Regions from separate parts of the Homo sapiens genome. Here region 2 is linked to region 1. Evidence: promoter capture Hi-C in 16 types of primary human blood cells and fetal thymus (Javierre and others, 2016). All regions are on one chromosome and are shown on one strand. Each heading gives the region's core, a stretch centred on a gene start or on the middle of the fragment in contact. The rest is flanking DNA. Distances are from core to core; before and after follow the strand shown. Region 1 holds the start of LPIN2 (lipin 2). Region 2 overlaps NDUFV2 (NADH:ubiquinone oxidoreductase core subunit V2).

Evidence for each region. The method cuts DNA at HindIII sites, captures the fragments that hold promoters and counts their contacts. A CHiCAGO score of 5 or more calls a contact.
Region 2: a contact is called between a fragment that was not itself captured here and the fragment with the promoter of LPIN2 in region 1, in 1 of 17 cell types (total CD4 T cells). The highest score is 8.2, in total CD4 T cells.

The regions. Positions count from the first base shown.
Region 1 is chr18:3,010,528-3,016,036 of GRCh38, reverse strand. It overlaps LPIN2 (lipin 2), which reads left to right and starts at 2,893. Exons shown (of 20, transcript NM_001375808.2): 1 at 2,893-2,950. RefSeq lists a silencer at 2,503-3,452. The HindIII fragment of the contact is 8,581 bases long and covers 406-5,509 here.
Region 2 is chr18:9,113,699-9,119,207 of GRCh38, reverse strand. It overlaps NDUFV2 (NADH:ubiquinone oxidoreductase core subunit V2), which reads right to left. Exons shown (of 8, transcript NM_021074.5): 2 at 1,305-1,370. Among named protein-coding and RNA genes, the nearest start is that of NDUFV2, 14 kb to the right of the region's middle. RefSeq lists an enhancer at 5,311-5,509. The HindIII fragment of the contact is 3,264 bases long and covers 443-3,706 here.

The sequences.
Region 1 (5,509 bases), core at 1,644-4,143:
GATAGGAGATTCAGGTGGAGCAGGTTTGAAGAAGCACAAATAATGGGTTTGAATCTGACATCACTGTGGACCTTGCTGGTTGAGACGTTGAAAGCCACTGAGCACAGGCATGTAGAATTCAGAGGAGTTCCCACTAATGAGGGGAGGAGAGAGTTTCAAGAAGGAAATAATGATCAACAGCATCTTGCCCTGCAGAGATCATGAGGCATGGGACAGGAAAGGGGTCTGTTTTCTTCGGCAACCAGAAGGTCATAGTGACTTTAGCCTGAGCAGTTTCAGGGTTAGAGGAGGAGCAACCCTGTGAAGATGGGAGAAAACCTGAAACTCTTTCAGGTAGCTTGGGTGGGAAGAGAAGCTGTGTGATAAGTCGACAGCCTGAGGGGGAACGGAGGGGCCACAAAAGCTTCTTTTTCAAGTGCAGGAATGAAGCCAGAATTGAGGAAGAGGGGACAATTAGTGGAGTGAGGTTCCTCACCTTGGAGCTGGAAGGTGGTGGGTCAGAGGCCAGTTGAAGGAAGCGCTTTCTTCCTCTGACACTCCAGTGGAGTAGGTGGACCTGGGGTGGCCCCTCCACACTTCCTAGGGCAGGAGGTGAAGGGATTTATCATGCAACAAACATTTAATGAGTCACCACTTAAGTGGTAGTGTAAGCTGGTGGACACGGGAAAATGAGGAAAATATTAGCAATATGAACCAATCGTTCTGAGTGAGGTCTCAAACGCAAGGTTGTTTGGAGGAAGGGAGGGGAGCTCTAGGGCTTCCTGAATGATGAAAGGAAGGAAGGGAGCTTGGCAGAATATTTCCCTCCCAAGGCAGAGATAGAGAAAATAGCCTGAGAGAAACAGGAAAAGTCTAAGTGGGAGAAATGGAAGAAAGGAAAGAAAATAAACGCTAACAGCCTGTTCCAGGTTGCAGACACTAACGTAGGCACTTTATAGGTTATCACGGGGAATCCACAAAACAATTCTGTAAGAAAGACACTACTATCTTTATTTTACTGACGTAGAAACTGAGGATTAAATTCTTTCTCTAGCTTTAATTTTTCTTCTCCATATTTATAAAATCCATTGAATACGGAGGGGGATATTTTAGTCCTCTTCAATTTTTATTTTACTTGTGAAGCCAAGTGAGAAGCAGTGAAATGAGGAAAATTCCTAGTGGTCTTGTGCCAGTGAAACTACCTATGTTTCTGTAGGGCCTTGATTACAGATGGGGCAAAACTTGATCGAGTTTCACAGAAAAGCAGAAGGAACTTCAGTGAAGAAGTGGTCGCCTGCTCCCTGAATCCAAGCACTGCCCAGCTACACCAGGCACTGGTGGGAAGAAACTGGGCTGCAGCTGGATCCTTCAAGGAGCAGCTTTGTGTATGCAAATGCCTATTTCAGTACCCTTAGAACTGTATAAATGATCACACACAAGATGCACCTCATAAATTAACTGCCATTTATATAGAAGTAACATAGGCTTCTGTTCATTACTTTCAATCATAGAATAGTAATAGAATAGGCTGCAAATTAAAAACCAGTGTGCACCAATAGTATATAGCACCAGCAATCCAGTTTTTTTTGTTTTTTTTTTTTTTGAGACAGAGTTTCGCTCCCAGGCTGGAGTGAAGTGGCGCAATCTCTGCTCACTGCAACCTCCGCCCCCCGGGTTCAAGTGATTCTACCGCCTCTGCCTCCTAAGTAGCTGGGATTGCAGCCAACATGCCCGGCTAATTTTTGTATTTTTAGTAGAGGCGGGGTTTTGCCACGTTGGCCAGGCTAGTCTCCAACTCCTGACCTCAGGCGATCGACCCGCCTTGGCCTCCCAAAGTGCTGGGATTACCGGCGTGAGCCACCGCGCCGGGCCCCATTTCTTTTCTTTCTGAGACGGAGTCTCTCTGTCGCCAGGCTGGAGTGCAATAGCGCCATCTCGGCTCACTGCAATCTCCGCCTCCCGGGTTCAACTGATTCTCCTGCCTCAGCCTCCTGAGAAGCTGGGATTACAGGCACGCGCCACCACGCCCGGCTGGTTTTTTGTATTTTTAGTAGAGACGGGGGTTTCACCATGTTGGCCAGGCTGGTCTTGAACTCCTGACCTCAAGTGATCCGCCTGCCTCGGCCTTCCAAAGTGCTAGGATTACAGGCGTGAGCCACCCATTTCTTAAAAAGTATATTTTAATGCTGGGGACGGTGGCTCATGCCTGTAATTCCAGTACTTTGGGAGGCCGAGGTGCGGGGATGCTTGAGCCCAGGAGTTGGAGACCAGCCGGGGTAACAGAGCGATAAAAAGAATAAACAAAAAACAACAGAACCCCGGCATATTTTTAAAAATGAGTTGTGTAATAGGATTTTTTTTTTTTCGGTGGAGATGTAAGTAAGCAAAGGAGATGTGCTACTAGTGATCAAAAGGGGATTATAAAACATTCATTCCCTAGACTTTTTTTGCACTTTAACATTCCTTTTTGGCAATTGGGCTCTCAGTCCCACGTGACCTGCCGCAGGGTTGCCATGGGGACCGGAAGAAACTTTTTTTTTTTAAAACAAAGTAAGGCTCCTGTCGCCCGAGGCACTAGAAAATCGAGGCCCCGCCCTCACTTGGCCAGGGGCCCGGGCGCGCAGCCCAGGGACTGGGAGCGGTGAGAAGCCGCACGCCTGGCGCTCGGCGGCGGGGGCGCGGCGCGCGGCCGGGAGCGCGCGTCACGTGGCTGGGGCGGGGCCTGCGCGCTGCCCGCCCGCCAGCTGCCGGCTCGGCCGCCGCAGCCGCGGCGTCCCATTCATGAGGGCCGCCCGACTCAGCTGCGGCCCAGGCGGCTTCCAAGGCAGCGGCGGCTGCGGGCGCTCCGACCCCGCGCGCGCCCCCGACCGGCCCCGCCCCCTCGGCTTCCCTCCCCGGCGGGTCCTAGCCGTCGCAGTCCAGCCGCCGCCTGCCCTCAGCCGCCCGCTGGCCGGGAGCGGAGCCCCTGTGGGTAAGTGGGCGCGGGCCGGGCTCCTCGCAGGCGTCCCTCCGGGGCTGGCGGTGAGTGTCTGCGCCTGGGGGCTTCCCTTGGCGCGGGCCCGGGGCTGTCCTGCCGGAGGCCGGGACCCTCCGGGGCGGCGCGGGTTGAGCCGCCCCTCCTCGCGCCGCGGTCCCCGCTTCCCGGTCCTCGCGTCCCAGTCCCCGCCTCGCCGCGACCGCGCCACGTAGACGCGGCCCCTACCGCCGCCGCCGCAGGACGGACCGGCGGGGTGCGCGGGGAGCCGGGGGCGTCGGGGCGTCAGTGGTGGCTGCTGAGGACTCTGAACCCGCGCAGTTCCCTCGCCGCCGCCCTGGGGATGGTTACCCGAGACCACCCCTACCCCTGGGTTTGGGGCGCGGAGGGGAGTGCGGAAGGCGCGCGGGAGGCCGCGTCTCCATCCCGCCCCCGGCCCTGCGGGAGGGGGCGCCGGGCACGTGATCTGCGGCGAGGCGGGGGCCGCCGAGTTGCTGGTGTTTCTTCCCCGCCGCGCTTTGCCCCGTACCTCCGCCTTCAAGCTGTGTGGACCGGATTCAAATGTGGTTAGTTTTCTCAAAGCCCCCCAGCCCCCGGTGCAGATCTTAATTTGTGAGGAACACGTTCAGATACAGTTTGTACTGAGAGCCTCTCTGTCCACTTCTAACGCCAGCGGATCACCATTTTCTCCACTCGCCTGAACATTTTAAGACTCTTTTCATTGAAAATTCAAGATGACATTTTTTAGGCATAATTATGCAAACCAGTACCAGAAAGATCACCCTTCCTTTCCGAAAAGTACTGGAACTCTGAATACTTGGAAATGCTTTGAAGGACTACTTAGTAAATGGCCAAACTAATTTTTAATGCACATTTGGGGCTTACCCATTTTTTTTTTAATTGAAAACGAGGCTCTAGACTTGGTGTCAAGGTAGGTCCTGTTGAATGAAGTTCTTTACCCAGTAGTGATGATGGGTGTTACTGTTTATTAAAACTTGGCCTGGCTAGATTATAATGTTTTGACAATACAAAGTCGGTTTTGAAATACATTTTGAAATATTTACGAATTATTTAGTGGCCCATACTGGTTTATGTTTTAACGGTCTGGTGTTGATCGTTCTTAGTGGCTTCAGATTGAGAAGAAGTGGCAGGTGATGCTGAAGCGGGGGAGAAGCGGCAGAGCCGGCCACACAGTGCAGGGGATGGAGACAGGTGCTGGGCTGGTCCTCCTGCAGCATCCTCAGTTGTTGGAGGGCAGTCATCCTCAGGCCGTACCCAGCCAGAGAAGAAAAAGAACAGTGTGAAGCCACGTGTGATAGCCGTCCAACATCGGCTCTTCCCTCCAATTACATTGTAGTTGATTGTGGTATGTCAGACTGAAGTATCTCTTTTATTTCGAGACAGAGTCTCACTCTGTCGCCCAGGCTGGAGTGTAGTTGCGCGATCTCCGATCACTGCAATCTCTGCCTCCTCTGTTAAAGCGATTCTTGTGCCCCAGCCTCCCGAGTAGCTGGGATTACAGGCATGAGCCACCACACTCAGCTAATTTTTGTATTTTTATTAGAGACCGGGGGTTTCACCATGTTGGCCAGGCTGGTCTCGAACTGCCGACCTCAGGTGATCCGCCCCCCTCGGCCTCCCAAAGAGCTGGGATTACAGGCGTGAGCAACCGCCCCAGCCAGACTTAAGGTATCTCCATGCCCAACTTTTGATAGAGGTAGCCATAGAAAGCTAGAAATGAAACGACAGGTTCTGTTTTAACGTTTGATGGCACAGTCGAGAGTCAATAGGCACGCATTATGCTTAAGAGAAGCTGGAAATGAAGTGTTTGAAAACCCTTTAATACTATAGTAAAGCACTGTTAAGAAGCAAATAATAGAGTCAGCTGGGGCTTTGTCTTCTTTATTGCTAGGAGAATGTAGCAATAGAAGTTCTCATCGCCCTGTATTGCACTTTTGGTTTTAAGGACTGGACCCAGAGTTCCTGAAAGCCAAACTCCATAGCTGCTCAGTAAGTTCCAAGCACATAGCCGGCTTTGGGATGCGATTCGGTCGAGGTCTGTTGAATGAAGGTAGACGCAGCAGGCAGTTTGTCCTTACCAGTGACCTGGAAGACGGTGGCACTTCCTGAGTGAGCTCACTTACCTTCCCTGAATGGTGAGGCATGGATGAATATTCCTGGTGGTGCCACGTGTTAGAGGTGGTAAAGGGTCAAATGTTTACTTTTATTAATATTACATTATGGCTTGGTTCTCTGTGTCAGCGATTTTTCTATGCCTTGGGTACTTATTTCCTAATATATATCAGCACAGTAACGCCTAGCTGGAGGCTTTGTCTTGTTAGTTGATAGATTAGTGGTAACAGGTAGATTTGGTTATCTCCCGTAGGTGCTTAGCAATTTACATCAAGAGGCTTTTCTTTAAGTCTGATTTAAGTCTTTCCATCTTTAATTTAAATCCATTTCTTTTTACTCCGACCCCAGTGACTGTCGTTGAGTGTGTATTTGCCCGACTTGCCGTGCCAGATTGGTAGGCAGTGGTTTGGAATCTTCATTTTA
Region 2 (5,509 bases), core at 825-3,324, 6.1 Mb before region 1:
ATACCACCCTATCCTTCCATCAAAAAGAATGTCTAAACACACATTTGATAAGTATGATTACCAAAGTAAAGTTAGCAGAATTTAAAAATTTACAAAGGACCATTTAAAGAATAAGAGAAGTACCTTTAGGACCAAAAAAACCCAAACAACAAAAAGTGTTATCCAGCTTCATTAGAGAGTAAGATCTTCTGATAGAATTACCAAAACATTACCAATTATTGGAAGCCTTTATGAAATTAAAACACAAAATTTTAAATGTGAACATATGTGTATTTTCCCAAAAGCAAGGTTATCAGATTGTCAAAGGGATCTGGGATCCAAAAGGGTTAAGACCCATTACTTTAGGAGGGTACAAAAGGACCATCTTAAAAAAAAAAAAAAAAAAAAAAAAACAGCACCATCTCTTTCCCACGTTTTCCATAATAGCCAACAGCAAGAAGCTTTATCTCTTCTTAAAAGAGCAGAAGCAGGCCCTCTTCAAAAACTGACAAGAAATGGCATGTCAACAGGAAATCAAATGAGTCACACTGAGATTAACACTTACGATCAATTAATGTTATGTATGTGTGGTGAATACAGAAATGAATCTCTTGATATGTTAACTCTCGGAGTTCTGCTTTTTAAAGGACATAAGCCAAAAGAGGAAAGAAAACAGACACTCTGGACAATGATCTCAAATATGTGGCCAATTTGATGCTTGATATATAGCAGGAAGCTACTTCTTACACCACTAACTCTAAATCATCACACAAGTCCACTATATTGCCTTTATACTAGATTAATCCCTGAAAACAGCACCTTGTCAGAAAAGGGAGATATAATATCTTATCCTTTCCAAATTGTGCAACTAATCTGGGGAGTTCACAGACTTCTATTTATAGTTAAAACTCCGGAAACTAAAAATATAAAGACCAGCTGCTAATCTAGTTACTACATTACTAAAATCCATGAGTTTCAAACTAGTGTCATTTTGGGATTCAACAAGTTACAATCTCCAAACTCTCAGTAAGCCAACATGACTGAGAACCCAAAGTGTGATGAGAATCAGGTTAGGGCTCACACAGTAATTTCACTGGAAATAAATTCTTATTCCCAGAGTTTTCCTGATACTAATTTAAACTCATGAGGTTCAACTGGAACCAACATCTTTTGAAATGTAGTAAATTCAATTAGCTGTATGTAAATTCTCACGATGACCATCATATATCAAAGACAATGGTATTTAAGATATTTTGGATTTTTACAATGGATTTACCCCAATTTCCAAGTCTTTTCTTTCCAAAGAAATCTAAGTAATTACTTACCACAAATAAAGCTCCTCCAGCTCCATTTTGCATAACTGTCTTATGCAAATTCCTTACATGTCTTCCCTAAAATTTAAAATTTTAAGAAAGTTTAGTAAATCATAGCCTTAAAAAATTTTTCATAAAGAAATACTTTAGGATTCATAATTTACAACAATGGAATCAACTTATAAAAGATCTTAAGAAATATGGTATTCTACCCTATCCATCTCTATTTCAGGAGAGTTATTTTACAAATGGAGATTCAAAGCCAAGATTCACCCACCTAACATCACACACACGAGTCAATAGGAGAACCAGGACAACCCAGATCTGCTGACTTGTGTACCTTCCTGCCACGCTCTGCTGGCATGCATTTGGAGAATTAATGTACTATTAACTTCTTGACTTTCACTTTTGTCTGAATCAACTTGGATGCCAGCTTTCACTTAGTGTGAACCTTCATAAACATGTTTTCATTCTGTACAAATGAGTCATATACTCTGTACAAATGAGTCAACTGTATCCTCCTTCCTTTTCAATCCTTTACTAAATTAGTTCTGAAACTCCAGCCGTAAAAAGTAGTTTCTGGCCGGGTGTGGTGGTTCATGCCTGTAATCCCAGCACTTTGGGAGGCTAAGGCAAGGAGATCACGAGGTCAAGAGATCGAGACCATCCTGGCCAACATGGTAAAACCCCATCTCTACTAAGAACACAAAAATTAGCTGGGCGTGGTGGCGCACGCTGGTAGTCCCAGCTACTCGGGAGGCTTAGGCAGGAGAATCGCCTGAACCTGGGAGGCAGAGGTTGCAGTGAGCCGAGATCGCGCCACCGCACTCCAGCCTGAGCAGCAGAGCAAGGCTCCGTCTCAAAAAAAAAAAAAAAAGTAGTTTCAGAAAGCTATTTATGATGCTATGCGGACTGACAATGTTCAGTTGCTTTGGAAGGAATCTGATTATTCTCTCAGCTGCATTTCATTTCTCTTTGCCCTCTTGCTCCTACCCTCCACTCCTACCCTGTCCCCCGCCCCCAAGTATTTCAACTACTGTTCTGGATTCCTCCAATTTCTGAGTTCTACTAACCACAGACGGCAGAACACTGGCTGGGTTAAACCAAGCATGGAACTAGCAAAGAGTTGGACAATTCAAAGGCAAACATAGAAGAAAGTAAACGGAGTAATATAACACAATAGTATATTTAACTTTACCCTAGGTCCAAATGATATTTCAGTTGAAGAAATATTAATAAATAAGTTTACATGGAACATCTGCTTTAATTAACAAGAAAAGACTAAGGTACAGGATGTGAGACACACGTACAAAAGATGGGAGTGATAAATATCAATTTCAGGATAATTGGAAGGCAGGGAGGGATACAGTCAGAGGTGCACAAGGGGGCTTTGATTGTGTTGGTTTTGTTTTGAAAAATTAACTGAAACTAAAATTTAGAAGACAGTCACTGTCATCTTAGCTCAGAAAATTTTTTTAATCGAGTAACAATTTTTGAGTAACATCAGTGAGTTACTTAACTAAATTCTGAGAGAAAAGACTGTATACTTATAATAAAAGGATTAATTTTAAGAGTAGGGAAAGTATTCAGTCTTCTCCTAATTTCTGAACACTAACATTTTCTGTTTATTGGCTTTTTATCCACTCCTTGCAGGCTGTCCTCAGGGCTCAGTTCACACTCCTATCTTCTTTTCTCTATAAAGCCTTTGCCTCTGAGAACTCATCCATTAACTTGACAGTGATGAGTCTTAAATCTTACACACATTTGATGACAAGAGGCTAATAGCCTGAAGAGATCATAAATGCACTTAAAAAATGAGTAAAGATCATGAACAAAAGTTTCACAGAATTCAAACTGCTTACTAGTAACTAAAAACATACAACTTAAAATAACATTACTAGTTATCAAACTACCAAGTATCTTTTTTCTTTTAAGATAGCATTCCATTCTGTTGAGCATATAGAGAAACAAGCACACTTAAAAATTCATATAGCCTTTTAGAAAGCAAATTACCATGATATATGGAAAGCCTAAATAAGTGTCTTTTTTTTTTTTTGGAGACGGAGTTTCGCTCTTGTTGCCCAGGCTGGAGTTCAATGGCATGATCTCGGCTCACCACAACCTCTGCCTCCCGGGTTCAAGCGATTCTCCTACCTCAGCCTCCCAAGTAGCTGAGATTACAGGCATGTGCCACTACGTCTGGATAATTTTTTGTATTTTTAGTAGAGACGGGGTTTCTCCATGTTGGTCAGGCTGGTCTTGAACTCTCGATGTCAAGTGATCTGCCCGCCTCAGCTCCCCAAAGTGGTGGAATTACAGGCGTAAGCCACTGCGCCTGGCCCCAAGTGTCCATTTTTTAATTTAGTAATTCTAACCTAGGTATTTTTCCTGCAGTACAAAATGAGGATAAAGCTTTACATGAAAACATGTTGTTCCTATTATGTTTATTGCAGCAAAAACACAACCTAAAAACCCAATCTGAGCAGGTTTTAACTAAATACTAATAATTCTGACACTAGAACGTTATGTAGCTAACAAAAATATGTCGTAAAAATAATCATGTAGAAACTGGAATCAGGGTTAAACAAAACAAAAAAAACAAAAATGCATAAATTATCATCCCAATTACATTAAATACAGACACTGATTAAAAGACTAGAAGGCCATAAATAATTAAAAGTGCTTATCTCTTATTACGATGTTAATGAAATAAGGGACTCTTATTTTACATTTTTTATATTTTTCTCTATTTTCCAAATTTCCTATTAGCATGGATTAACTGGCCAAAAAAATCCTACTTAAAATAAAACACTCAGCAGGTATAAGAAAAACTTATCTCTATTGTAAAACCTATTTCTCCTTCTAACCTCCTTGTATATCAAATTAAATACCACCAAATGTCTAAATTAAAATAGCTTCCATTTTGGATTAATATTTGATCCCTTTCTCATTAATCCAGGATCTGTCATGTACTTTTACTTAAAATAAAAATATAGAGATAATCTTGAAAATTATTCTTTAGGCTTATGTTGCTACATATTGGAAAATCTATTCTGAGGCATTCTCTTGCTGACTTGTAAAGCTCTGGATACGCACATGAGTTCACAGACATATTTCTAAAAGTGGTTTGAAGTCCAAATCGTTGAAGACAGACTACTGATTGAGAAGGGTCAGGATAAAGTAGCTAAACTCTAGGAAAAAAACAGACTTTCAGATTTTTTGTAGTTGTTGAGGCCTTGGGTTTAGATTACCATTCTGCCACTTACTAACATCTGACCTAGAACAACTCACTTAATTTTTTTTTAAGCCTCAATTTCTGTACCTATAAAACAGGGTTATCTTCTTATTGGACTATTTTGAGATTTAAGTAAAGTTTCTCTGAAAGTACTATATAACCTGTAAAGCATTATCACCTGCTTAACTGACACAAGGATAAAACATTTAATAACTAAAAAAAAAAAAAAAAAAAAGATCCAAACAACTGCATTTTAAAACTACACCTATTTTTAAAAAATTGTGCTGTTAGTTGACTTTATCAAAGAGTTACTGTCAAACACAACATACTGCCAATATTCTTGCATTTGCACATAATTATTTTTTCTTTATATCCATATGTATAATGCTTATACTTTTTCTAGTAAAATTATAATGTATTTGATGGTTAAAAAACCATCTACTTCTCCACTGAAATTAATTCATAAATTTCTCTTTTAGTTAAAGAAAGTGGGGAAGGAGGAAGAAATAGGCTGGTAGAAAGATTTCCATGGGTCTTAGGTTTGTGCATTTGGTGAGCAGCAGCACTGAACAGCTTTTGTTTAAGACCATCTTTTCTATTATTTTTGTATAAAATACCTTCTCCTGGGGCAAAAGTTGAGTGAGTTTTCTTACAGACAGGGTTTCCCAAGCTCAAGGTCCCTTAGCAGTGATGCACAGCACTCACCTAGGCTGTTCCATGTCACTCCCATTGTAGCAGGACAAGCCACAGACAAAACCCCTCAGACACTGAGAAGGAAGGGCTTTATTCAGCCGGGAGCTTCGGCAAGACTCTTGTCTCCAACAACCGAGCTCCCCAAGTGAGCAATTCCTGTCCCTTTTAGGGGCTCACAACTCTAAGGGGGTCTGTTTGGGAGGGTCGTGATCGATTGAGCAAGCAGGGGGTAGAATGGAACAGAACAGGACAGGGATTTTCACAGTGCTTTTCTATACAATGTCTGTAA